Regions from separate parts of the Homo sapiens genome. Here all the other regions are linked to region 2. The links are contacts of gene promoters, found by promoter capture Hi-C in blood cells and fetal thymus (Javierre and others, 2016). All regions are on one chromosome and are shown on one strand. The core of a region is centred on a gene start or on the middle of the fragment in contact, and the rest is flanking DNA. Distances in the headings are between cores, read along the strand shown. Region 1 overlaps MCPH1-AS1 (MCPH1 antisense RNA 1). Region 2 holds the start of LONRF1 (LON peptidase N-terminal domain and ring finger 1). Region 3 holds the start of INTS10 (integrator complex subunit 10). Region 4 holds the start of C8orf58 (chromosome 8 open reading frame 58). Region 5 overlaps MCPH1 (microcephalin 1). Region 6 overlaps ASAH1 (N-acylsphingosine amidohydrolase 1). Region 7 overlaps ATP6V1B2 (ATPase H+ transporting V1 subunit B2).

The links. The method cuts DNA at HindIII sites, captures the fragments that hold promoters and counts their contacts. A CHiCAGO score of 5 or more calls a contact.
Region 1: a fragment that was not itself captured here is called in contact with the fragment with the promoter of LONRF1 in region 2 in 3 of 17 cell types (activated CD4 T cells, total CD4 T cells and total CD8 T cells); the score reaches 9.0 in activated CD4 T cells.
Region 3: a fragment that was not itself captured here is called in contact with the fragment with the promoter of LONRF1 in region 2 in 1 of 17 cell types (total B cells); the score reaches 6.7 in total B cells.
Region 4: the fragment with the promoter of C8orf58 here is called in contact with the fragment with the promoter of LONRF1 in region 2 in 1 of 17 cell types (neutrophils); the score reaches 6.4 in neutrophils.
Region 5: a contact is called between a fragment that was not itself captured here and the fragment with the promoter of LONRF1 in region 2, in 1 of 17 cell types (naive CD8 T cells). The highest score is 5.1, in naive CD8 T cells.
Region 6: a contact is called between a fragment that was not itself captured here and the fragment with the promoter of LONRF1 in region 2, in 3 of 17 cell types (total B cells, naive B cells and M0 macrophages). The highest score is 9.4, in total B cells.
Region 7: a contact is called between a fragment that was not itself captured here and the fragment with the promoter of LONRF1 in region 2, in 1 of 17 cell types (total B cells). The highest score is 9.5, in total B cells.

Annotation. Positions count from the first base shown.
Region 1 is chr8:6,703,225-6,707,267 of GRCh38, reverse strand. All of the region lies in intron 1 of MCPH1-AS1 (MCPH1 antisense RNA 1), which reads left to right. Among named protein-coding and RNA genes, the nearest start is that of MCPH1-AS1, 3.0 kb to the left of the region's middle. The HindIII fragment of the contact is 3,107 bases long and covers 1,002-4,043 here.
Region 2 is chr8:12,753,706-12,757,645 of GRCh38, reverse strand. LONRF1 (LON peptidase N-terminal domain and ring finger 1) reads left to right here and starts at 2,120. Exons shown (of 12, transcript NM_152271.5): 1 at 2,120-2,946. The coding sequence starts at 2,226. RefSeq lists enhancers at 114-173, 1,827-2,646 and silencers at 1,622-2,291, 2,372-2,711, 2,715-2,905, 2,802-3,341, 3,392-3,471 and 1 more. The HindIII fragment of the contact is 11,195 bases long and covers 1-3,936 here.
Region 3 is chr8:19,816,767-19,820,346 of GRCh38, reverse strand. It overlaps INTS10 (integrator complex subunit 10), which reads right to left and starts at 2,931. Exons shown (of 17, transcript NM_018142.4): 1 at 2,681-2,931; 2 at 2,005-2,072; 3 at 671-774. The coding sequence starts at 2,809. RefSeq lists enhancers at 1,991-2,080, 2,291-2,380, 2,881-2,940, 2,981-3,060 and silencers at 2,561-2,690, 3,211-3,350. The HindIII fragment of the contact is 2,472 bases long and covers 499-2,970 here.
Region 4 is chr8:22,597,145-22,600,906 of GRCh38, reverse strand. It overlaps C8orf58 (chromosome 8 open reading frame 58), which reads right to left and starts at 1,308. Exons shown (of 7, transcript NM_001013842.3): 1 at 1,147-1,308; 2 at 1-25. The coding sequence starts at 1,186. It also overlaps a transcript of PDLIM2 not described here. RefSeq lists silencers at 909-1,368, 1,399-1,498, 1,864-1,923 and enhancers at 2,310-3,057, 3,058-3,762. The HindIII fragment of the contact is 7,578 bases long and covers 1-3,762 here.
Region 5 is chr8:6,412,288-6,415,869 of GRCh38, reverse strand. It overlaps MCPH1 (microcephalin 1), which reads right to left. Exons shown (of 14, transcript NM_024596.5): 3 at 987-1,105. Among named protein-coding and RNA genes, the nearest start is that of MCPH1, 7.5 kb to the right of the region's middle. The HindIII fragment of the contact is 1,050 bases long and covers 1,454-2,503 here.
Region 6 is chr8:18,080,153-18,083,949 of GRCh38, reverse strand. All of the region lies in intron 1 of ASAH1 (N-acylsphingosine amidohydrolase 1), which reads left to right. Among named protein-coding and RNA genes, the nearest start is that of ASAH1, 2.1 kb to the left of the region's middle. RefSeq lists an enhancer at 277-386. The HindIII fragment of the contact is 2,384 bases long and covers 437-2,820 here.
Region 7 is chr8:20,200,058-20,203,764 of GRCh38, reverse strand. The region is part of intron 1 of ATP6V1B2 (ATPase H+ transporting V1 subunit B2); the gene reads right to left. Among named protein-coding and RNA genes, the nearest start is that of ATP6V1B2, 4.5 kb to the right of the region's middle. The HindIII fragment of the contact is 3,998 bases long and covers 1-3,328 here.

The DNA.
Region 1 (4,043 bases), core at 1,306-3,805, 6.1 Mb after region 2:
GGACGGTATTTCAGTGGGAAGTTCTAATCAGGGCCAGGATGGTAGCTACTTTCTTTATACATGATTAACATCAAATAACAACATCATTGGTAGATGATGACCTTTGGGGACAAAGCCAGGTGAATGGAGATCTCTCAAGTAACAAGTATTTGAAGGCCAGCAGGAAGCATTACACAGTAAAAGGAGCTTCTCTCTTTCTGTGGCTGTCATTGTCCTGTACTGTAAGAAGCACTAGGTTTAGTACTGGTGGAAAAAAGTCACAGGTGTGGACAGTGTGCACAACTAATGCTCCTTATGCTTTCTTTAACTGAGACCAGACATCTCTACACTAGAACAGTGTGCGAAAAGATAAAGCAGGTTCTGTGTTCACGTTAGGATTGCTGTGTATAAAGTCAGTAAATATGTGTTTATGTGTAAATTTGTTGTGAATCACCCCAGATTACTGTTAGTCACGAAGTTGTAAACTTTTGTGCAATGTTTGCCATGAAAACACAGAACTTAACTTTCTCTTGTTCCCTCTTTATCTCCAAACCCAGCTCCTGACTATCAGTTATTGTCTGTCCTGCTCCCGCTCCTCTCTTCCTGCGAACAGTCACAGATCCACCCTCTCTTTCTGCCACTACCCGGCCCTGTTTTTCTGTTTTTTTTTTTTTCCCTTTTTCCGTGCAAACCTCTTAGTTGATAATCAGCCCACACCCTCTGCCTCCTTACCTTGTACTTTTGTTGAGCCCTTGCAGTCTGATGACCTTTTCCTCCCCTTTACTGGAATGGTGCTTCTTTCAGAGCACAGCTGATTTCCTCCTTTGCATACCCTGCTGGGCACCAGTGGAACAGTGAAAGGTGAATTCTGTCTATGCCTTCCTTGTACAACATTTAACAAGGAGTTACCTGTGGGATGAAAAGGGGACATTCTTGGTTCTCTGGGAGCATATATCAAGGCAATCTAATTTAGTCTGGAGACAAGGAAGACTTCTCAGTGAAATGGTATTTCAGGTGAAGCTTGAGGGACTTAGTGGGCTTTCCATGGGAGAATGGCACATTTGAACGCCTGAAGCTGAGAAATCACCATATTCTCATGCATAGCACTGGAGTGGGCCACAGTGTTCTTTTTAAAATTTGTTGAGATGCCCCTTGAAAGAATGCTGTGTATTCCCATCACACATTCTTAAACTGATATTTAAATGTTTTTCTCAGCTGGGCATGGTGGCCTATACCTGTAATTCCAGCACTTCAGGAGGCCAAGGAGGAAGGATCACTTAAGCGCTTTGTAGAGTGAGGCCTCCATCTCTACAAATATATTTTTTTAATTAGCTGGGTGTGATTGTGCATGCCTGTAGCCCCAGCTACTCAGGAGGCTGAGTTGGGAGGATTGCTTGAGCCCAGGAGTTCAAAGCTGCTATGAGCCATGATCGCGTCACTGCAATCCAGCCTGGGCAAAAGAGAAAGAGTCCATCTCAAAGAAAAAAAAAGGTGGGGAGAGGGGGGCTTTTAATGATAAATTTAAAAAGGCTTTTAATTATAAATTTAAGTAGTTATGAAGTTCTGATGAGTTATGAATGATGTTTTGAAAATAAAGTGATTACAGAAAATTTTTAAATGTATGCAGTGAGTTATAAATATTATAGTGACTTAATATCCACCCCATCATTCATTTCAAAAATACTTAAGCCTTTGACCAGTTGAAAATTTTGCATTGATTATTTTTCTCCCTGAAAATATTTTTATTTCACTTCTACCACAGGATTCTATCATAATTGAATATGCTCTATCCTTCAAAGTTTTTTACTGATCAGACTGTATCATTAGGGTCCTAAGAAGCAAATTTTCTTCTGGATTGAACTGTTACTATTATTAGCAATACACAGTTTAATCAATGTGTTTCACAAAATCTGATAAGGAATTGTAGGCAAAAAAAAAAAAAAGTTACAAGAAATGCATCTCTTAAATAAGTTATCTCTGTTGGTGTCCTAAGGTTTATTACACCTTTCTACCTCAGCAGGGCAGCACAATGTAGTAAGATTTAGGATGTGCCAGGGGGGAGAGGAGCCATTATGAAATGCCAGGTGGGCCTGGACTGCAGGAGTCCTCAGACAGATCACTTTTAGAAGAGTTGGGATCTGAAAACTGAATCCCTTGAAACTCCTCATGACCACGTGTCCATATTCTCAGGGATACGCATGCCTCCATTTGAAGATTGTTTTTACAGAAATAATTGGGGTAAGGAAAGGAGACAAGGATGCTAGGGATTGAGTCTGGAAAGATAGGCAAGAACCAGATGACAGCAGGGTCTTGGGGGACACATAAGGATTTTAGAATTTATCCCAAAGGACAGGGAAGCTACTGAGATTTTAAGGAGAGGAGTGACATGCTTATATTTGATCTTTTTAAAAGTTGTTCAGGCATTGTGGAGAGTATATTTTAAACAGTTTGGAGACTATAGCTAGACTCCCAGCTAGAAAGGATGATGGTAGCTTAGCCTTTGGTGGTGACCATGTATGGAGAGAAAAACGAATCCCTCATGTACAGTGTTCTTGGAAGGAAATTTGACAGTATGTTCTAAGAATGGACAGCCATATGGTTTGGATCTGTGTCCCCACCCAAATCTCATTATCAGTCTTAACCCCCAATGTTGGAGGTGGGGCCTGGTGCCAGGCGATTGGATCACAGGGGCAGTTTTCTCATGAATAGGTATCACCGTCCCTCTTGGCACTGTCCTCAGGATAGTGAGTGATTCTCGCGAGATCTGGTGGTTGAAAACCACGTAGCACCTCCCCACTCACTCTTGCTCCTGCTCTCCCTTTTCCTTTCACCATGATTGTAAGTTTCCTGAGGCCTCCCCAGAAGCTGAGCAGATGCCAGCACTATGCTTCCTGTACAGCCAGCCAAAATGTGAGCCAATTAAACCACTTTTCTTTATAAATTACCCAGTCTCAGGTATTTCTTTATAGCAATGCAAGAACAGCCTAATACAGACAGATACCCTTTTAATCAGTCCATCTACCTAAGTGCACATCAGTAGCAGAATAGCTTTGTGGATACACAGTACTGATAAGTGAAATGGTATGCAGCAGTTGGACAGGAATAAGTAGCACTAAATGCGTAGTCGTGGACAGATCTCCAGGACACTAGGTGACAAAGCAAGTTGCTGGATAATACATGCACTATGATCCTATTTCTGTAAAAACTAAATAAAACTTTGGTCAGTTCCCATTCATGCTTTTATTTTGCTGTTTGCACAGATAAAACAAGAAGGCATTCCTGTTATAAAAAGTGTAAGCAATCCTATGTTTTGAATATTGAATGAAATGTGGACATTTCCCTCATGCCGCACCCAATCCCACTTTCTTACCCAGAGGTTACAGCTATCTACTTACGCAGTAGATGCTTGGCAATCCTTTGCCCCTTCCCTCCTTGAGGTGACTAAGATGGTCATGCAGACAAGCCACCCCTCCCAACAGAACCCATGTGATCTAGGGGGAAGCTGACCCCACCCATAATGGGCCACCATCAGTCTAGGGCTGTGTTTTTTTGACGTGTGGACCTTGAAGCCTTCAGGCTCCTCAAGATGCTTTCAGCTGGTCCAAGGGAAAAATGTTTTCACAGTGATACTGAGACATCATTTGCCTTTTCACTATTAGATTTACAGTGGTGATGCAAAAGCAGGGGTAGGTAAATCCACTAGCACCTCACTGAGAGTAAGGCAATGACACAGAAAGTTACCTACTAGTGACCATCATGTTCTTCATCACAATGTGATCATGGCAGAAAAACGCTTAAGAATAGCCTGAATGTGATAGCAAAAAAAAAAAAAAAAAAAAAAAGTCAATTTTATTAAATGTCAACTGTGGAGTACACATCTTATGAATACTCCATGTGACTAAATGGAACTTGCATGAAGCACATGGGAAGCATACCAAAGCTCAATAGCTCCCCTGTAGGAAACAACCTCTGAGCTGCAAGCTGAGAGCTACTTTTTTCGTGGAACATCACTTTTGCTTGAAAGAATAACTAGCAGATAAAGTGGTGAGTCTGGCAGACACTTT
Region 2 (3,940 bases), core at 871-3,370:
AAAGGGAAGTTATGCAGCACACAAAGGCCACAGCGGCAGTACAGCCTCTTACATAAATAAGTTACATAAATGAGAACAAGTTATGTAAATGCATAAACCAGCAAACATGAATTATAACCATTCACAAATGCCAAGGAGAACACGGTAAGATTCCTCCTACGGTCCCATTTTTTTCTCCCGCACATTATCATAATTGTGCCATTTTATTTCACATCAGAATCAGATGTGGTTGTCATATTTATTAGGAAAAGGAACTCCAAAGGACAAATAATACTTCACATTATTTTCTGAACCACATATTGTACTTTTGGCAGAAATCCCATAATAGAACCTGACTTTATATTTGAAAAGAAGTTTATGAGTGTTTATTAATTTACTATGCTCCTTGTAATAAACATGAACACATTGATTACATATTTACTGTTGTAAATTTTGCAACATGCCATTAAGAACAAGGATGCGTTACAAAAATGAATGTGCGTGTACACATGGATATTTGTTTGTGATTTCAAGTCTCAAGGGAGTATGTGGACATCAGCTGAAAGTCACTGTTCTGCTTGTTAAGGTAGTAATTTAGGGGTTAGGATTGGATTTAAGGTTATGCTCATGACTTAATCCCAATGCTTCCCATGCCAAATGCTTAGGAGGTGCTCCTTGGATCTAGCTGCAATTTGCTTCAGGTGCAATGTGAGTGATAAATGAACTTGTTTCTGTCTGCATCCTGTTGGAACAGGAGGCTTGGCTTTTTCTCAGGCACCTCTTTTTTATTCATTCCCTTTAGGGTAATATAACTCTGTCTTTTCTGACGTTACACGACTTGTTGATTGTGTAGTGAAAACACATGAACTCAAAACATTTTTTAGCCTTAATTGCCTGTTCCTTATAAAGAGAAATATTAAACGTTTACCAATTTCATACATAGCATGCTCAGGTGAACTTTCCAATTAGCAACTTCTTTTACTTTGAAAATCTCATATATTTCTATGAAATATTACATATTTTATTAAATATTACATATTAGTCTAACGTAGTAGTAGTGGAATAGACGTGATCTTAAAATCTGTATTAGCTGTGTGATTTTTGACAAATAACTTTCCCTGTGTTTCCAATCATTTGAAAAAGGACTAAAAGTCCTAAGTGACTTCCAACATTAGCGATCTAATACCCTATCATCAAATCTGTATTTTCAGCTGAGAGCTTTAAACTTGCTGCTGTGAAGTTTAAGGGAAATAGCACCCATTATATATCAACCCGATCATTTTCTTCTGTCAGCAAAACTGCAGAGCCAGCTTGGGTTGTAGTAATACGGTGACCGCCATGTGAAACATGTTTCTTGGTGTTTTCTTTTAAAACTGCCAAATATAGACCTTAACCAGCTGTAAGGCAGTGCTTGAGGTGTGGAGACACCTGAGGAAGCTGTGGGCTTTCTCCCTCGAGGTGGGCCCACGATGAGTTTTAAGCAAGACGGGCAAGCAGTCACCTGGCACCAGGAAAAACTCCTTGCCCTCTGGAGGGAGTCGCCCCAGGAACGTGGGTTTTTTGTTCATATTTAAAGTTGAGTCCTCTAGAACCGAAGAGTCCCAGTCATCTGCCGAAGGTGCGCTCCCAGGCCCCCTGCTTGGGCGCGCCCACCTGGAACATGGGCGTAGAGCTATGAAAATGCAGACCCGCACAAGCGCGAGGCCACGCGGGGAGACCCCCGCCCGCCAGGAGTTGGGGCAGGTCCGGCCTGGGCGGGGGCGTCGGGGGAGGGGTGGTGACCCGGAGTCCCGCGCGGCAGGGGAGCGTCCCCCAACCCCCGGCAGGGGCGAGGGCCACCGCAGGTGGCGGCGTTGGCAGACAGGCAAGCGGGGACTGAAGCTCCGGGGTCCTTCCGGCTTTGTTCCGTCACGAGCCGAGCCCTCCTTTCCGGAGAAGCCAATTAGATCTCCGACGGAGGAATCATCCGACCTGCGTCCCCCACCCGGAGGGGGCTCGGAAGGGGCGGGGCCCAGCGCTTGGCTCCTCGGGAGCGCGGCCGCGGGCGGCGTGGGGGAGTCCCGGGCGCCGTCGCCGAGCCCGGCCCCGCCCTCGCCAGGCCCCGCCCTCGGGGCTTCCCGGGCGCGCGCAGCCCCGCCGTGTCCGCGCGCCACGCCCCCCTGCTCGCGGGCCGCGTGCGGAGCCGCGCGCCCGGGAGGCTCCGGGACCGTGGCGGCGGGCGGCGGCGGCGCAGCCCTCCGCGGGCCATGTCCTCTCCGGCGGTGGCGAGGACCTCCCCAGGAGGGAGTCGGGAGATGGCCCCAGCGCCGCAGGGCCGAGGCCGGTTCTGGGAAGTGGGCGGCGGCAGCGGCCATCGGCTGGAGCGCGCGGCCGCGGAGTCGGAGCGCTGGGAGCTGCTGCTCCGCCGCGGGGAGCTGCTGGCGCTGGGCGGCCACCTGAAGGGCGCGCTGGAGGCGTTCGCGGCGGCGCTGCGCCGCGGGGCCCCGGCCAGGCCCGAGTGCCTGGGCGCCCTGGTGGACTGCCTGGTGTTCAACTACCGGCTCCGCCACGGGCTGGGCTGGAGCGCGGCCCCGGTTGCAGGCGCTGACGGCGGCGCCGGCGGGCTCCTCAGATGCCTGGGCTGCCGGGGCTTCCTGAGCGAGCCGGTGACCGTGCCCTGTGGCCACAGCTACTGCCGCCGCTGCCTGCGGAGGGAACTCCGCGCCCGCTGCCGCCTCTGCCGGGACCGGCTGCCGCCCGCCACCGCCAGTGCCACTGATGCTGAAGGGACCGCCCCGCGGCCGCCGCCTCTGGCCGCCGCCATCGCCGCTTCAGACTTCAGAACCAGCGTCGTCCTCAACCACCTGGCCGAGAAGTGGTTTCCGGGCCAGCGCGAGCGGGCCCGGGCGGCCGGCAGGCTCGGGGAGCTACTGCACCAGGGGCGCTACCGGGAGGCCCTGGCCGCCGCCTGCGAGGCGCTGCGAGCAGGTGACCGCGCGGGGATGCGGCGGGGCCGGGCCGACCGCACCCTCCTGGCCCCGAGGGCCGGGGACCCGGAGCTTGTCTGCGCCCCGAGAGTCTCCTCTGCTTCCCCGGGGCCGCTGGGCCGCTGGCGTGTCGGGTCTCGGGGTGCTGGGGGGTGTGGGAGGGGGCGGCGCCCCGGGGTGCTTCGGTCATAATGGGGATCGCCCTGGGAGCCGACTGTGACGCGGCGCGGGGAGGGGCGCTCGGCGCGGGGTTCCCTCGGCCGCGGCCTGGCTGTCGGGCGCGCGCTCCCGGCGCGGAGTGGGTGACCTGGACCGAGGCCGCCCCGGCGCGGGATGGGTGGTAGCTGGGCTATCCCGAGCGGCCGCTCGCTTCCTGCCGCGCGCTTTCCGGGAATTGGCTCTCGGGCCGGGCCCGCCGCGGGGAAACGACTGCCGGGGCGGGGAGAGAATCCCCCGCGAGGGCAACTAGGCCGGGCAGGCGGCGTCTCCCTTCCTCACCCACAAAAGTCACCGGGACAATTGGGAACCGCGGGAGGGCAGAATTGCATAAGCTGGGGGCGGGGGGCGTTGTGTAACGGGTGACGTCCGGTGGGCGTGGCGGGAGCTCCGCGCGGGCGCCCGGCCCCGGGAGGCCCTGCAGGCCGCCGGGCTTGGGGCTTGGGGCGGAGCTGCCCAGGGTGGTCCCTTGCTACCTGGAAATGCCTGAACTGGTTCCTCTTGAAAGTTTCAGCTGGCCTGTTTCAGATCCTGCTTATTTCCTATGTACTTTGCAGTGCACCTAGCTTATGGTAAAGATGAGAGGGGCTGCCTGATCCATAGTTCTCTGCCACGCTTCTCCTGGCCTTTCCACTTAGGATCAGGCTGTGGGGAAAGGCCTTATAGGTCTTGAGTGCATTTCTTAGTCTCCAAGAAGCAGCCTCGGCCTCCTAACCTAGGTTAGCACTTTCTTCTTAAGGTGGTTTTAGGCGCTGAAAGGGGGCAGTTTCAAGCTTCTC
Region 3 (3,580 bases), core at 485-2,984, 7.1 Mb before region 2:
CTTGCGGACAGAAAAGACTGCAGCAACAGTGCTGAGTAAGGCATTTTCATGTACAGAACAGTAAACACTACATGTGAAATCAATGCAGTTAAGTTTCACCTACAACCTGGCAGCCTTTTGGAGCCAATAGTATCTGGCACAGGATGTTTGCTGAATAATGGTAAAATATTTGCAAGACTGATCAAATTCAAAAAACAATGATGTATGTGAATGGTCACAAGAATGCCTGTTGCAGGTTGAGATAGAGAGCATGTGCTTGTTGAAGTTCAAATGACCTATGCATCTACTTGCTATTTTATCTAGAGTTTGAAATCTTTGATTGACTACAGCAACATACAGAAGTTTAAAGAGAAAGCTTCTAAATTACTAAAAGCTTCTCTCCTGTTTTGTGGAGAGCTGGTTAATCTATAGCTGCTATCTGGTTATTGTAAAACCTGTTAAAAATATATACAATTAATTCCTCGTCTCACTGATAAATCCATATCCTTTAAAGAAGCTTAAAGGGTTCTAAGCAAGTCAAGGAACCGAGTGACATTATTATAGACTTTGGTTGCCAAGAATAAAACATACATATGGTTACCAATACCCCAGGTGTGACTTTTTTGTGTGTGAAATTACTATATATGATTTGGTATTCCCGAAATGGTAACTTATACACCATTATTCTTACTTCTTAAAAATTGGGTTTGTTTGTCCTGTGAATCGTTCCTTAATGCTGATGTAATAATGCTGATTTCTCTCCACACCACCGGCTGGTCTGGGAAATTCACAAACCTATTTTTAAAATAAATACATTAAATTAAAATGTCAAAGTCTATACAGTATCCAAAAGAAAAAACGTTAGCATTTGGTGAAAAAGTTTCCTTTATTCCAAGTGAATGCTTAGACGTGCCAAAACAAACCAAAATAAAAATGTAAAAATAAGAATTACTTGATTTATAAAAATGAGAGTACTCACATAAGTCTTTAGTGGGTTTTATAGGTGAAAAGACAAGTAACCATAACATAGAAAGAGCTTCTAAAAGTCAACAAGAATAAAACAAACTATTTGAAAGAAAAAATAGGCAAAGGCAAATCACAGAATACACACAGCCAAAGAGAACAGTTGAAACAATACTGAATCTTATTAACAGTATGAGTAGTACAAATTTTTTTTTAAAATAGCAAGATACCATTTTCTCCTATCACAGTGACAAGAACTAAAAAGAGACTAATAATATCCAGTGTTGGGAAGGGTATGGGAAAACACACTCTTTATACACCATTGGTGGTAATGTAGACTGGGATCGCACATTTTGGAGAGTAATTTCATAGCGTATCAAATTTTCAAATGCGCATAAACTTTGACTATGAAAATGTCTTAGAATCTATTCCACAGAAAAACACCAAAATATGACTACAAAATTGTTGACACACTGAATATAATTTCAAATAATTTAAAACTATCTATTTAAATGTCTACCAAGAAGAGAGTGTCTACGAAATACTACACAGGCATGAAAAGGAATGAAGTGGATCTCTACATACTGATATGGGAAGGGGTCCATGAGAGTGAGTAAAGGAAACATGCTGCAGGGCAAAGGTAGTATGGTCTTCTCACTTTTGTAACCCCTTCCCCCCAAAACCTTATTTATGTATTATGCATACATGTATAGATATACTGCCTACAAAACTTAACTCTGGTTCAGTTTAGGATGCACTTTCACTTTTTGTTCTCTATAACAAGTAGTGTTTGAATTTTTGTAATGAGCACATATTATTTCTAGAATAAATTATGAAACAGAAGTTTTAACAAGGATAAAACATAAGAATAATAATTAAACTCTTCTGCAAAAGCCATGTCAGCAATTTATGGCAGGCCTGGACTCCTTACTAGGTTTGCTTTAGGTATCGAAGATATAGATGAACTTGAAGATCTTCCCCCAACTCCCACTTCTGCAGAGAGAAACAAAACCTCATGGAGAGATTCAGTGCAGTAAAAGTGATGTCAAGCGTCCCACTCACATGTCGTACAGCAGCCTCCCGGCGGTGGCGGTCCGCTCTGCATTCCGCTCGATGGTGTACATCTCATACTGCAACACACATCAGGCACCCTGGTCACTCACCCCTGCCCAGAAGGCTCCCAGCTCATCCAGCATCGCTCGTTGGCCCTCCTGCAGGAAGGGAGGGCCTGAGAGTGAAGCTCCGCCTGGTGACACAGCGCCACATACATGGCAGACTTGCCATTGGGCTTAGAGTGTGACCCTGGGGTTCACCTGCAATCTCAGGCTCCCAGGATTAAGTAGGATAATATTTCCAAAGTCGCAGGCCCTGAACAAACTGCTGCCATTATGATGAATGAAGGAGCGAATGGCCTTTTGCTAGTGGCGATCATGTGCTGTCTAGGCCAGATGGCACGCTGAGCCCCAGGGACCTAAGCACACCCGACCTCAAGCGGGATCGGCCGTCTCTCAAGTGCTGGGGAGAGGGCTCCTGGAAGGTGTAGGAGCAAGGCGGGTGAAAGGTGTAGGAGCAAGGTGTAGGATGGGAGGGGAGAGAGGAGGGGGTGGGAGGGGAGAAAGCAGGGGGCCGGGCAGGAGGCGGCAGCCCCCAGGCAGGCGCAGCTCTGGGCCAGGGCAGCCCGGGCGACGGGAGCGCGCACCTCCACGCAGAGCGGCCGCATGCACAGCCGGGACCTCACCTGGATGTTAAAGTCTGCCGGGTAGAGGCTGCGGGCCGTGATCAGCCACGCCTTGGCTGCCCACAGGTCTTGCGGCACCAACTCCCGGGCTCGCTGCACCAGGAACTCGCAGTCCCCCTGGGCAGACATGACCCGAGCGCTCTCCAGCCGCCAGCCCGAAGCGGCCGGAACGTCCGGCTCTGGACTCTCAGCCGCCACGGCAGCCACCGCCGCCGCCGCCGCCACCGCGGGGGAGGCTACTGCGCATGTCTGGAGGCGCACGGAGGCTGGCAGAGTGGATCGGGAAAGCTTTTCCGGGTTTTGCGAGCAGTCTCCTCCCCTTGGCTCCTCGTTACCGCCCGGTCCCCTCCTCTTCTGAGAAGCCAGAGCAGTTGAACCGCTTCCAGGTCACCTCGAAAATGCGGAGAAGTGGATTTTCATTCCTGCGGGCTGCAGCGTGACCTTGGTGAAGTCAGGGAGCATGCGCGGGAGCGGGCAGGCGCCAGGCCTCTTCGCCATTTCCATCCTCTCTGGGTATTGCTCAGTTTGTCGGGGGCGGGGGCGGAGGCGGGGGCGGGGAGACGGGCGGTCCCGGGGAATGGGCGGTCCCTGGGCGTCCCCCCGGCGTGGAAGGTTGAGAAGAAGTTTGAGAGGAACAGCAGAGGGTCGGGGAGGCGGCGGGAAGCACTCTCCACCCGGGCCGGCCTGAAACACCTTCCCCGGGGGCCGCTGCCTGCGACTCACTCCCCGGGCTTCGATTTACGCGAAAACTCCTGGGGCTGGTGGGGGTGATCGTGCAAAGCGTGAGCTCCGGGGTTCCTTCTCTTTCCGAAATCCGTCCACGTTTTATTATTTCACCTTTATGCACCGGTTTCTCCAACAAACGTTTATTGAGCAACGAAGTACTTGGAAAGCGCTTTG
Region 4 (3,762 bases), core at 59-2,558, 9.8 Mb before region 2:
CGTGCCAGGCCCTCGCCAGCCCCATCTGCATGGAGAGTCAGCGTCAGGCTGGGCAGGCCACCCCCAACACCCCCAGCATTCCTGAAGGCTGGCAGCACTGCCCCAGGGAGAAGTGTCCCGGAGCAGTGAGGAAGGGCGGTCACTGGACAGCCACGGGCAGCCCGGATATGGCCCCAGCTGTCTGGGAGATGTGTGGATGGGATTCCCTTCGCAACGGTTGTTAGCGACAGGGAACCCGTGCTCTGAGCTGTGTGGTAGGCAAAGCCCTGGCAGGCCACATCCATCAATCCCTTAGACGGCCTGCGCCTGCGCTTCCCACCTAGGATCAGCCCACGATCTCCCGAGTCAGAAGTAGGGAGCCACAGGCTCTTCCGCTGCTCCCCAAGCGGGAGTAGGACTGTATCCAGCTTCAGGGAGAGGGGAGAGGGTACAGAGAGGAAAGCCTGGGATCCAACCTGCTCTCTGGGGGCCCCTGCGGCATCAGGATGCCAGGTGAAGTCTCTCCTGCAGCTCACCGGGAGAGTGATAAAAATCACCGCTATAACCGATTTGGGCTTTTGTTGTAAGTGAGCAATAGTGAAGATTTTATGAAAAGTTTAAAATGAAAGAACTGAAGTGAAAGAAAGGGACGAAGGGGCAGCATTAGCACCCCCTCACTGTCACCTCCGCCAGGCCCTCTGGCGACGGGGCGTCCTGGCGGAATGAACGGTACGGGAAACAGGCTAGGGGGGCGGGGACGAGCTGCGGGGCACGCGGGAGCCGAATGCCAACCCAGGCCCCTCTGGGCAAGGAAGTGGGCCAGGAGGTCACTGGGTGGGAGAGGGGTCCGCAGCCACGGAGGGGGCTGGGGCGCGGGCGGATTCCCACATCCTCAGAAGGAGCGGGAAGGCGAGGGAAGCGGAGCCGGAGGAAGTGGGGCGGAGGCGGTGGCTGGTTTAACGCCTGGGCCCAAAGGGGTTCCAGCCTGCATGGCGTCCCCTGATGACCGCCCCTCCAGGGAGGCGGCGAGGGAGGCGCAGCGGCGCGGGCTCCGCCCGCGGGGTGCGCGGGGCTGGGCAAGAAACTGAGAGAGGGTGCCCGGCTTGGGGGCGGGAAGCGGCTCCGGGGCAGGGGGGAGCCCGGCCAGCCTGGGGGTGGGTGACTCACCCCGGCCGTCCACGGCGAAGGCGCGCCGCCGGCCCATCATGGCCCGCTCCCGGCCCCGGCCCCGGCCAATGCAGCCGCCCGAGGATCCCGGCCCGAGTCCCCGCGGAGCTCGGGCAGCTCAGGGAGCGCGTCCCGACCCAGCTGGGCGCGGCCCCCAGACACTCCCAGCGGGGCTGGGGGGGCGGGGAGCGGGGCTGGGGGGGCGGGGGGCGGGGCGGTGGGGGGCGTGGCCTAGGGGGAGGAGAGAGGAAGAGCGAGACGAGGAAGGGAGGGGCGAGGAGAGAGGGGAGGGGCGAGACGAGGGAGGGGAGGGGCGAGGCAAGGTAGGGGAGCGGCGAGAGGAGGGGAGGGGCGAGGGGAAGGGGGAGGGGCGAGGAGAAGGGGGCGAGGAGAAAGGGGCGGGGCAAGACGAGGGATGAGAGGAACGAGGCGAGGGAGGGGAAAGGAGAGGGAGGGGAGGGGCGAGGAGAGGGAGGGGAGGGGCGAGGAAGAGGAGGGCGAGGGGAGGGGAGAGGAGAGGGTGGGGAGGGGAGAGGGAGGGGAGAGGGGAGGGGCGAGGAGAGGGTGGGCAGAGGAGAGGGAGGGGAGAGGGGAGAGGGGAGGAAAGGAGAGGGGAGAGGGGAGGAGAGGAGAGGGGAGAGGGAAAGGGGAGAGGAGAGGGAGGGGAGGGGAGAGGAGAGGGAGGGGAGGGGAGAGGAGAGGGGAGGGGCGAGAGGAGGGAGGGGAGGGGCGAGAGGAGGGAAGGCAAGGGTGCCAGGTGGGGGGCGCAGGTGGCCGGGTCGCCAAGAACGAGGTCGAAGGCACGGACTGGGTGGCGCCCCCAACTGTGGCTGTGGCCAAAATAAGGGTCCCGATCAGCTGTTCTGCGAGGACCCGGCCCCCGCCTGGGGACGCCGTCTGGCTCGGGGCGCCGGTCCGCCCGGCCCCGCGGGTTCACACGCAGCGTCCGTCTTCCTGCCGCGGACTTAGAGCCGGGGCTGGCTGGAGGACCGGACAAGAGCCAGGAAGGAAATGGGAGCCCCACGTGCTGGCGGTGGGAAGAGCGCTGACCAGGACGCGGGCACCCGGCGCTCCCTAGCAGTGTGGCTTGGGGGCCAGTCTCTTGGCCGCTCGGAAACCTGGGCGATGGGAGGGGAAACGATCCTGCCCACCGGGAAATCTTTTACAACTGCAGAACGCGCGTGTGTCCTCAGCTAGATCTGAACCCCCTCCCGGTCCCCTGCCTCTTTCTCATCCCGGGCTCCCTAAAGCTGGGGACTGGGTAGGTCTCAAGGTCTGGAAAGATGCGAGCCAGCGGGGAGCCGCCTGGAGACTGGGCCAAAGTGTAAATGTCCCCCTGTTCCCACCTCACCCTGCCTTTGGCCCGTGGGATTCCACCCCTCAGTCCCCAACCTAAAAGGAGCCCAAGAAGCTACTGAAGATGAGAGAGAGCCTGGTGACCAGACTGGGGCTGGTGTCCTCTAAAGAAGGCACCTCCTCCAGAGGGAGGGGGCAGGGCTGGAAAAATCCCAGCAGGACCCAAATCCCCCGGAGGCAGATAAGGGAGCTGGAGGACGTGCAGACTAGCACCTGGACCTCTAGGGGAGGGGAGAGGCTGGAGCCAGAGCCACTGGAAGGAAGTGGCTGTTTACCGGGAGGGGTAAGACAGTCTGTGCATCCCCTTCCCTTTGCTCCTTTCTGGAACCAGTCCCCAAACACCCACTGCAGGAGCCTTTATCAGAGAGCCACAAACTATCAGATTTTAAAACTTTATAAAATGGGGAAACTGAGGCCCACAGCCAATCTCTGCGCAGGCCAGCCGAATGACAGCCAAGTGCCAGAATTGCTGGCCATGTCTCAACAGAGTCACATTCAAGCCCAGGCCCTTCCCTGCTAGCCATGGGTCCTCTGGGTTGCCCCCACCCTGCCCAGTCCTCCTAGACAGTACCCATTCCGCTTCTCACAGGCAGAGAGAGAACCAGAGTGCTGGGTCTCCAGGAACTGCCTTATGCAAGACCAAGAAGATGTGTGGAATCACACCCCGGCCGTGCCAGAGCCCTGCCAGCCCTCCCTGGGTAGGAGGGAGCCCAGACTCCCTCCAAAGTAAGAGGGTGGGGGAGGGAGCCTTTGCCAGATCGCGCCCTGAATTTGGAGAATGTGGGGCGGGATTCCAAACAGTCTCTGTGGTGACTCTGGGACAGGAATGCATCTGGAAACAGGAAGCCCAGCCAGCAGGAATGCAGTGTCTCAGCACAATGCTTTGTGTGTGACTCAAAAGAACCTCCACACACACACCCCAACACACACTCCCCTCCAGGCCATGGCGCACCCCTCCTCCCCACCACCGCCATGCAGATGCGTCCTGGCCCAGGACCAGCTCAGAGGAACCTGAGCCCTGGCGGGCACGGGGGCAGGATCTGACCCAACACCCAAAGTAGGGGGATGCCCCCTTCCTGTGGCAGCCGCAGTCCCAAGCCTAGAGCCAGGCCAGGGCTCTCTGAGTGATGCTTGAAGGAATGGGAGGGGCAGCCCGTCCATGCACTCCTGACAAGGTAAACCACTGCCATGAGTTCCTGAGACAGACAGTGTCCTGAGCAGGGTCAGCCCTCAGGCTGCCCAGTGGCCCCTGCACTTCCC
Region 5 (3,582 bases), core at 729-3,228, 6.3 Mb after region 2:
AAATCCCAGCTGCCTTTTTTGTTTTTGAATAAATTGACACACTGATCATAAAATTCATATAGAAATGCAAGGAACCCAATCAAGACAGCCAAACAATCTTAGCAAGGAACTCAAATCAAAATAGCCAAACAATCTTGAAAATGAAAAACAAGTTACAGGACTCGTACTTCCCAATTTCAAAACTTACTACAAATTTACTGTAATCAAAACTGTGTGGGCCGCGCACGGTGGCTCACACCTGTAATCCTAGCACTTTGGGAGGCCGAGGCAGGTGGATCACCTGAGGTCAGAAGTTTGAAACCAGCCTGGCCAACATGATAAAACCCCGTCTCTACCAAAAATGCAAAAATTAGCCAGGCATGGTGGTGCGTGCCTGTAATCCCAGCTACTCGGGAGGCAGAAGCAGGAGAATCACTTGAGCCCAGGAGGCAAAGGTTGAGATGAATCCCAGCTACTTGGGAGGCTGAGGCATAAGAATCACTTGAGCCTAGGAGGCTGAGGCTGCAGTGACCCAAGATCCAGCTACTGCACTCTAGCTTGGATGACAGAGCAAGACTTTGTCTCAAAAAAAAAAGAAGATACCAACCCTGTTGACAACTTGATACTGGACTTCCTGCCTCCAGAGTTGTGAGAAAGTCCTTTTCTGTTGCTCAAGCGACCCATTCTGTGGTCCTTTGTTACAGCAGCGCTTGCTGACTAACACAATCTGCTTCATCACATTCCCTCTTGCTTCCTAAGTCCACCTTGCATACCCAGCTTCAGGACCTGCAGGCTCCTTTTCCCCCTAGGCAGAGTTAGGTATTATAGCATGACCATTTTTGAACCACAGAAATTGAGGCTGGAGGATTTCAAATTACTAGGTGAGGTAAGAGGCAGAGAAAAGATGAAAATCAAACTTTATCTGGTTCTGCGATCTGTGAAAAATATCTCCACACATTTTCAATACTAGATACTTAAGGAAAAAAAGTAAGAGAGAAACTGCTTACTTTTCCACCCAGAGCACCGAAACGAGCTTTACGCCTCTCTTCTGAGCTTTGTCCCAAGTGCTCTGGTAGCCATCTTTGAAGATAACGTGAGTTACTTGTTTGTTAAAAGTTTTTGAAACCTGTAGACAAAATGCAGAAAACAAAATGTACATTACTGTTCATTCACAACTTAACTACAACTGATCAAAAAACCTCTACCCCAGCAATTCTGTTTCTCAACATCTGACAGAGAAACACTCAAAGGAATGCATAACGCTGCTTAAAACATATCTGTTCCAGTTACAACGGTGAATCATACACACAAGTTCACATCTACTCCCTCTAAAAACCCTCTGAAGTGTTACTGAAAGAATAGAGTTGGAGCCCTGCAAGGATAAAGAGGACAGAAGAGAAAATGTGGCCATGAGAAGGCACCACATTTTTAAAGATGGAAAGAGTCAGATAATAATGGACATTTCAGAAAAGCTTTCTACATCAAAAAAATAAAACCAAATGAAATTCAGAGGCAACAGAGAAAACAGAACACATATTTAACCAAAATTAAAAATACCTCATATCTTAAGATACTGTATCCATGGCTGGGCATGGTGGCTCATGCCTGTAATCCCAGCACTTTGGGAGGCCGAGGCAGGTGGATCACCTGAGGTCAGCAGTTTGAGACCAGCCTAGCCAACCTGGTGAAACCTTGTCTCTACTAAAAATACAAAAATTATCCGGGTGCAAGGTGGCGGACGCCTGTAATCTTAAATGCATAAATACAAAGTAAGAAGGTTGAAAATAAGTGCAATCATTCAAAAAGTTGGAAAAATTCAGCTAATTAAAACCAAAGGAAACTGGGTGTGGTGGTTCACACCTGTAATCCCAGAACTTTGGGAGGCCGAGGCAGGTGGATCATGAGGTCAGAAATTTAAGACTAGCCTGGCCAACATGGAAAAACCCTGTCTCTACTAAAAATACAAAAATTAGCCAAGCGTGGAGGTTCGTGCCTGTAGTCTCAGCAACTCGGGAGGCTGAGGCAGGAGAATCACTTCAACCCGGGAGGTGGCGGTTACAGTGAGCCAAGATTGTGCCATTGCACTCCAGCCTGGGTAACACAGCAAGACTCCATCTCCAAAAAAAAAAAAAAAAAAGATACTGTATTCACGCAACATGATCAGAAGATTATTTTTTAATAGGATCCTAAAGAGCTCTTGGAAATTAAGAAAAGATGACATAAGTAAAAAAATTTTCTACAGAAATATCAGACAATGAAGTTGAGTAAAGCTCACTGGTAGTAGAAGAGAAGAACCAGAAGACGGACAACAGGAGACAAAAGGCAAGAACATCAGAAGCTCAGACCAGGAGATCCAACAGCCAATCAACAGAAGTTAAAGAATACAGGAATACACAAAATGGAGAAAATATTATTAAAGAAATAATCAAAGAAAAGTTTCTCAAACTAAAGGATATGCATTCTAGATCAAAAGAATCCCCCACAAAGGCCCAGCACAAGAACGAAAACAGCACTACACCAAGCTTATCACAGAATTCCAGCATGGTTGGCGAAAGGGAAAAATATTAAAAGAGTGGGTAATCAAGGTGAAGAGGATAGAGACACATCACATGCAAACAATAAGTGACAACTGAATCAGTCTTATCAACAGCAGTCTGGAATTGAGAAAACAATGGGAAATACCTTCAAGGAAAAATAATATTTGTGCTAGCATTTTACACTCAGCTAAAATATTAGTCAAAGGTAACAGTATAATAAAGGCATGCTCAGACACTCATGGTGTCAAAAATTTTACCTTTTATGTATCCTTTCCAGAAGCAGAACTCATCTGCATAATTTTTATAGCATTCAATTATACTGAAGTAATATATGTACAATGCTTGGAAATATGAAGGTAAATACCAAAAGAAACAGATGATTTGAAAGTAGCTGTCTTTGAAAAATGGAAAAGGAAATGTACTGCAAAGCGTTGCTGGTTTCTCTTTCTTTTCATTGTGAATTTCATGGCACTGCCCGTTAGTCTTTTTAAACAATAAATATGTATTACTTTTATAACTCTCTCTCTCTCTCAATTTCCACACCCCCATCAAGTCCATGGGAGCTATCAAGGCAATTAAGAATTACCGGGCTGAGATTCTAGATTAAGACTGACACCTAGAGAGATGAGTCTAGCATTTGAGACCATCTTCCCACAAGGCTTTTATCAAATTTAGTACACACTAAACAGGACGAAAATTGAGAAGCCTCAAAGAGACAAGGGGGTCTGGTAAAACCCCTACACCTTGCGCTGAGACCCAAAGAGCTGCATCTAGATTAAGGGTGAATCAGAAGTTATAATGACCCTCACAGGCCTGTAGTCTGGTTTTAAATCATCTCAAATCCTGAAATTGGCTTAAGATAATCCCGGATTACGAGTACTACAAATATCCAAATCTTACGATGTTAACGACTATTGATCTGTATTCACTATTCTTTGAACTGTTTGCCAATTTTTGAAATAAAAGGTGAAACCAAAAAGTTCTAAAAGATCTAAGATCTTAATGCTACCCTCAAACCACCTTGTCAACTCACTTGTCTAACGGCTTTTTTCTTATTCACAGTAGT
Region 6 (3,797 bases), core at 379-2,878, 5.3 Mb before region 2:
GGCGTGCAGGTGCGGGCGCGGATGGAGGCGCAGGTGTGGCGGCGCGAGCGGGTACAAGGAACACCTCGTGCTGGGCAGCTTCTTTACGGGGGTCTGTGGTTTCGTGCACAGGGGTGTGGGTGCAGAGCGGGCTGGCGAACCCCGTCCTCGGTAGATTCGGTGCTACCTGCAACTAGAACTCCTTTAAAGGAAATCCTAGTCTCTGCAGGATACCTGGGTGTGATTCGCACATTCTTAGATTTGAGTGAGTGTACTTGAATAACCAGTTCCAGGCCCTTGCATTTTGAAGTGTTTAAATAAAATGTTCCGGTGGACCTGTGTGCATTACTCAATCAAGGACAGACTGCCTGATGGTCAGGTGCTTTCTCCCGAAGAAGTTCAGGAGTTCAGCCCAGGATACTGCAGGGCCGTGGGAAACGCTGAGTGGTCCCAAGCTTGGGCGGTGCGAGCAGCCCAGAGCAGGCCCCAAAGGGCCCCCTGTGGCCTTTTGCACCCAAGTCATGGGATCGCCTGTCCCGTGGCTCTTTCCCACGAGCAAGTCACAGGGCTACGGACTTCCTAACTGCAAGAGACAGTGAGGGACGAGCGTGACTCTTTCATTTTACAGAAGAGGAAGTAGACCTAGAGTGAGAAAATATTTAGCCAGAGGTTACACTGTTGTTTACTGAACATGCGTAACGTCCGAGCCTCTTGACGCCCAGTACTCTTTCATAATTCATTTCTTTATAAAGCAATCAGACTGCGTTTGTCTTTGCCAACAGAATCGGATAAGTAGGAACCTGGCGCATCTGGCCTGAGGCTAGATGGTGATGGTCTTGAATAGTTTAGGTAGGTTATTGAAAGTGGAAGCAAGATGTGCATTGTCTTCTTTTATACCTGTAAGGAGAAATTCTTTAAAATCATGGTGGGATATGATTTAGCCATTAAAATTGATATAATGTTCAGCAGATAAAAGTAGAATCCAGAATAGTATATACAGTTTTTCCTGTAATAGGAAAATACACAGAACATGTATGTGGACACGATTAAAGGCCTTAAAATAAAATTGCTCCATTGTGGGTAGGGAATTAATTTGCTTGACGGTAGTTGGTTTTATGGGAATTGGGAGAGACTTTGATACTTTGATACTGTCAGGGCCCTTCATTGAAAGACCACCAGGAACACACCATAAGCTGAACAAATTGGGTTTAGTGTTCTTTGAGGCAAAGGAGACCACACACCATGAGCGACGGACGGTAGGTTATAGAAAAAAACCCATTACAGAATTTGAACTTCGGTTGCATGATTTGGGGTAAGACTGAGGAACCGGGCTTTGCTGTAGATAGAATGCTGTTAGAAGGTGGGGCAATTCTGACTGAGTAAAGAAGGAACAGCCATTCTGTTTAGCACGAGAAGGGGATGTTTGGTGTTTTGTGCGTTGCAGGTGCCCTTGTTTTTGTCTGTTCTTAGAGAAAATCTTCAAGTGGCATTGCTTTGTCTTGGTGTGTCATGTCTCAGAATAATCTTATCCGACGTAGGTATCTGTGGGATTGTTGATGTCCAGGAGGAAAACAGAGCTTACCTGGCTGTGAGTGTCAGATCGGCTTGTAATAATATTGAGAGATAGCTGTGGGACTCAGAGCAGTTTCAGGTGTTGGAGGCTGTTTTTTCTTCTTTCTCAATAGCTTTATTTATTCTAGCAAAAGTATTTTGATAGCTATTTTCAGAAGAAGAATTAACAACCTCTCAATGGATATAATAGTTCTTATCTAGAACAGCGATTATCAAAGTCTAGTCTGGCCACTGGTGTCACTTTGGGAAGCTGTTTTCACAGGTTTTCAATGAAACTGGAAAAATAAGAATGCAAAACTAAAATTATTAATTTAGAATGTTAATCTTTACTCTGATTGTATGGACTTCAAGTTTTCATTGTTGCAAACGTGTTCTTAAAAATAACGGCAGAGGTAGATGTTATGTGCATGGAATTTGTTTTGTTTTAACATCTCCATTTGGCAGAATAAAAATTTGGACCCTCCTGTGCCAAGGCCTCATTAATTTTTTTTTACTGGCCTGGAAAATCCTGGGATCCATGCACTGAAGGACCTTTAGAACCTTACAGAAGTTTAGTGACTTCATTCTCTGAGAAGAATAAGCAGTTTTTCAACTGGAGTCATTATATGATAAACTATAGCCTCATGGTAACAAAAGATATTTCAAAAGTACTTTCAATAAATATGAATAATGAGAAGCAGCTTTAAATTGGAAACAAGTCATTTGATTTAGAACATCTGTAAGGATTTTTTGTGTGTTTGTTTTTGAGGCTTTTCACAATATTCCTATGTGAAGGTCCTCCTGAGTTATTCTTCATTATTGAATTTTTTAGGAGTCTATTAAGAGATGATGGTGAAGACAGTGGCACAAGAAATGTCTGGAGAGATAGCGCCAGATGACATCATCCAGGGTTCTGTAGACTCTTATTAAGGATTCAGAAATTTATCCTAAAAAATGGGAGGATCTGGAACCAGCCAATGGGAGGCCATTAGATGGTTTTAGACAAGATAACATTTTCACTTTAAAAAGATGAGTCTGGATTGGAGGTCAGCAAGGGTAGATATGAGGAGACTAGTCCAGAAAAGAAAACAGGGTGCGTTGAAGGATGGTGGCGCCAGGGGTGAGGGAGAGAAGTAGATGTTCTAGAAAAAAATCAGGAGGGCGAATGAGCTGAAGGAATCGTTGGGTGAGGATGAGGGAGTGAGGTGTCAGCGTGACCTGCACATTGCTGAAGTGCTTCGCTGGGCGAATGGTGGCATCCGTTCCAGGAAACATGGGGAGGGGAAAGCTTGGGGGCTAAAGAATGAGGATCGTTTTCATTTGGGGTGTATGTTAAATTTCAGGTGGCAGAGAGGCATCCAGCAGGCCACTCGGACTGGCACTCAGAAGAGAGACACTGAGAGTCACTGGCATAATGATATTATATTTGAAGCCCTTGGAGCAGATGAACTTACCTAGAAATAGGATAGAGAAAGAGAAGAAAAGAGAACTAGGCAAAGGCTAAGTAACTTGCACATGTATGTGTCAAGAAGAGGAGAAATTGCCAAAGTTAAAACAGGACAGGCCGGGCGCGGTGGCTCATGCCTGTAATCCCAGCACTTTGGGAGGCCAAGGTGGGCAGATCACGTGAGGTCAGGAGTTTGAGACTAGCCTGGCCAACATGGAGAAACCCTGTCTCTACTAAAAATACAAAAATTAGCTGGGCATAGTGGCTCACGCCTGTAGTCCCAGCTACTCAGGAGGCTGAGGCGGGAGAATTGCTTGAACCTGGGAGGGAGAGGTTGCAGTGAGCCAAGATCCTGCCATTGCACTCCAGCCTGGACAATGAGCGAAACTTCGTCACAGAAAACAAAAACAAAAAAATAGGAGAGTAAGTGGAACAGGAAGCTCAGGGAAGAGACTGGGACAGGTTAACTATGTTGAATATTATTGAGATGTCAGTGGTATTATGATGTTGGGCAACTGGAGGTCATTGGTCACCTCGACTGGAGCAGTGTTGGGGGCAGAAAACAGCTTGCGGTAGGCTAAGTGTGATTGGCAGGAAAGGAACTAGAGGGGAGAGATGGCTGCTCTGCGTAATAAATCTGACCCACTTCATAAGATGTGCGAAGATGAAACGTAATGGCTTAGTAATTAATTGCCAAAGTAAACTTGTAAACTCATTTTTATGCATCAGCTTCTCATACTAGTTAACAGCGTATGTCAACATTGTTGACATTAGCTATTGAATCAGCTTTAGCAATGATTTTCACGCAGTTGCCAGAAAT
Region 7 (3,707 bases), core at 80-2,579, 7.4 Mb before region 2:
ACAGCTAATTCTACCCCAGCAGGTCCTACCCAAAGCCCTCACCTATCACACCTGCATGGCAAGTGAAATGGGGATCAGGTATAAGAACACTCAGGGGAGAGTAATTCTACCAGACACCTACAAAATTCACTAAATTTCATAAGCAGAACAACTGAAAAAAAATACATGAACTAAAGTTTTGAAGAAAATTTACTATAAGGCCTAAAATAATTAACATGAAGCTGTCTAGCAACTGGGAATTTTTCACTTGCTTGATTTCTTTTGAGGTCTTATAATGAGCTTGCACAGAGATTCCTGGCACAGATGTGGACTCCCAAGCATGAGGAAACCATTTACTAACCAGTCTGTCCACTCAAGTGGCTTTGGAATTTAAAATTACAATTCCTTCAGCCTCAGGCGGGGAAGCCAGAGCCCTGGTAAAAATGCTGGGACAGAGCAGACAGCACTGTCAGGGCTTCCATCTTTCCTGCTAACAGGACGTTTAAATCCAGACATCACATATTTGCTTGAATACATCAGTAATTGTACTGCAACTGTCTCAATAGAGGCCCCCCAACTGAACTGTATTTTTTTTTCCCCACTTTAGATAAAAAGCAAGCTACTTGGATGGATGGTCATGTGAAAGGATTAATCATTCCCCTAGATTACTAGAAAGACCCCATTTGCCACATTTTCTGCCACTTTTATGAAAACCATCCCTACTGTTTTAAAATGATTGAATACTCTTAAAAAACATAATTCCAACCCTTTAAAAGATTTCTTCATTGTTCTCATTTTAAAGACTCCCAGCATTTTTTTTACAATGGCTTTCTAAAATTGCCATGTGGAAATGGAAAGTGAGCTACATTAGAAATATGTTTTCTTGAAACCAGTTTTCAGAAATGCAGAAACGTAGACCTTTCCAAAACCTTTACCAAACAGCTGGGGTGAGGGAGGGGATATGGTATTGAGATTTATGATTAACTGTTTTGAATAAAATGCAACATCAGTAAAATACACCAGGTTCTTAAAATTCTCTTTATTTTTTCAACAAGATTGTATCTCCTTTATAGGTCTGATTTCTACAACAATACTGCTTTAGAATCTCATGTTTAAAATTCAAGCTCATTCCAAACTATGAAATTTTGCCAGTCACGAGCAAAAGTATGACCAAGAAAAAGAAACACTAGTCATAGCTTTTCCTGGAAACAGTGACTCAAATTGACATCTACTACAGAAGACAAGATTCTACTTCATCAAAAGTCTCTAAATTTGGAACAACGTATCCAGCCTTTTAAAAAGTTAGTAAGTAACCTTGCAAGTTAATTGATAACACTATCATACATTTAATAAGTACTTTTCAGGAATTCTCATTTAATCTCCATAACAGACAGAGTTAGCTATCATTATTCTAAGTTTTAGAAGAGAAAAATTATTCTCAGAGAAATTATTGTGTCTTGCCCAAGGACACAAGCAACCAGCCCAAGGATCTGAATGTGTACACTCTAGCTCCAAAGCCACTTATTCTTTGACTCTACTACAGCCCAAATTCTAAAACTGAACTGGTTCATTTTTTGTGGTATGGTATCTTGTAAGAATTATGAAGCGATACCACCCAAAACAATTTCACAAGCCTGCAATTTTAGGTATGCAAAACAGGTTTTTACTTTTTAACGCACCAGGCAATAAACTTCATCCCCAATGTGGCAGTACTGACAGGTGAGGCCTCTAAGAGGGGAATGGGTCATGAGGGCTCTGCTCTTATGAATGGATGAATCCATTCATGGGTTAATGAATTATCATGTGAAGGTAACTGGTGGCTTTACAAAAGGAAGAGAGACCTGAGCTAGTGCCCCTGCATTCTCAGCCCCCTCACCATGTGATGCCCTGAACCACCCTGGGACTCTTTCAAGTCCCACCAGAAAGAAGGCTCTCACCAGATGCGGCCCCTCCACTTTGGCCTTCCCAGACTCCAGAACTTTAAGAAATAAATTCCCTTTCTTTATAAATTACCCAGTTTCAGGTTTTCTGTTAAAAGGAGCAGAAAATGGCTAAGACAGTAGGCAAGGCTGATGCACCCTAAGGAAACTAAGGCCCTGATAAGTTTGTTTTTAAATGGGGGAGCCAGGCTTCTAACTGTTTTGTTTTTCTTTAATCTTAGGATTGGTACTCTATGACCCTTATAATATTTCTGGCCTTAGTCTTCAGTACAATTAAAAAGTATGGAGATCATACAGCTTCTAGCACTTGGACTACAAGTGGGGACAAAAAGACAATTTGTATAAAACTACAGCTCTTCTCCATGGTACTAAAACTATCTGCAAAGAAAACCAAGCAGAATGATAACAAACACTACCTTTTATCTCTAGATTTATCCAGCCTTCCTCACCATTACCATTAACAGCCCAAAACAGAGATACCAGTTTAAACTATGGCTGTCAAAGACATTAAGTTGCCCTTCAAAACAGGAAAAAACCCATTTGTAAATTACCTAAATATTTCTATTTACCTACATATTGACCACTCCTCTCCAAATGAAAAAGAATTTGAGCCCGTAGGTGTGTGAATGGGGGATAATCAGAACTTCTGACAACACAGAAGATATATGCTTATATTACCTTCTTAACATATTTTACAACCAAAATGTCTTGGCTTTGATTCTGAACTATCATATGAGCCAGACAAGTATTTATGAAGTAACATCTAAAACCCAAAATCTACACGGGTTTTAAGGAGCACATATTTTATCAGATGACATCCTCTTCCTCCTGCAGGATAGGATATTGCTCAACACTAGTAACACCATTTAATGATTACGAAATACTCAGAAAAAGTTGACAGCCATTGCATAATAAGTGTCCTAGTCTTTTAGCCTCTGCCTTATTAGCAAAACAAAAACCCAGAGCAATCATCTTCCCTTGTACAAGAAGAGTAGAGATCTGCATGATGAGCAGTGAGCACCTGAAGAAGAGGTTCTAGGAAAAAAGCAAGGAGAAGATTCCTATTTTGACTTTTTGCAGGGCTGGCTCTGCTTTATGATATAAGAAACTTAAGGCCAGTTGATCTAGGGTCTCAAGAAAAATGGAGATGACCAAATTCAAAATACATAGCACCCGAAAGCTCTATGTATGTTGTTGAATCTTTTCTTTTAAGAGAAAATCAAGTTTTCATTCCTTGTGACTTCAGAAATTCAACTAAAATGCTCAAGATAATTTCCTAATTTCAAGCCTGAATATGTTTTCCATTTCTTTTAAAAGTCCTATAATCTTGAAGCTATTTTTTAAAAGGATCTAATTTGTACAGTGGAACTGTCAACATTACTCCATTTCTTCATTCAAAAAACAAAGCTTTTTGAGTTTAAATGCAAGTTACACAATTACAAGGCACATTCTATGTGTCAGGCACTGTGCTAGGCAGTGGGGACACAAAAAGGATCTCTGACTTCTAAAGGTTCAGTGTGAAGCTTTAGGCTGGGCACAGCAGCTCACACCTGTAATCCCAGCACTTTGAGAGGCCATGGCGGGCGGATCTCTTGAGCTCAGGAGTTGTAGACCAGCCTGGGCAACATGGGGAAATCCCATCTCTACCAAAAATAAAAAATAAAAATTAAAAAAAATTAGCTGGACGTAGTGGTGTCCGTCTGTAGTCCCAGATACTTGAGAGGCTGAGGTGGGAGGATCGCTTGAGCCTGAGATGTGGAGGTTGCAGTGACCTGAGCTCACACCACT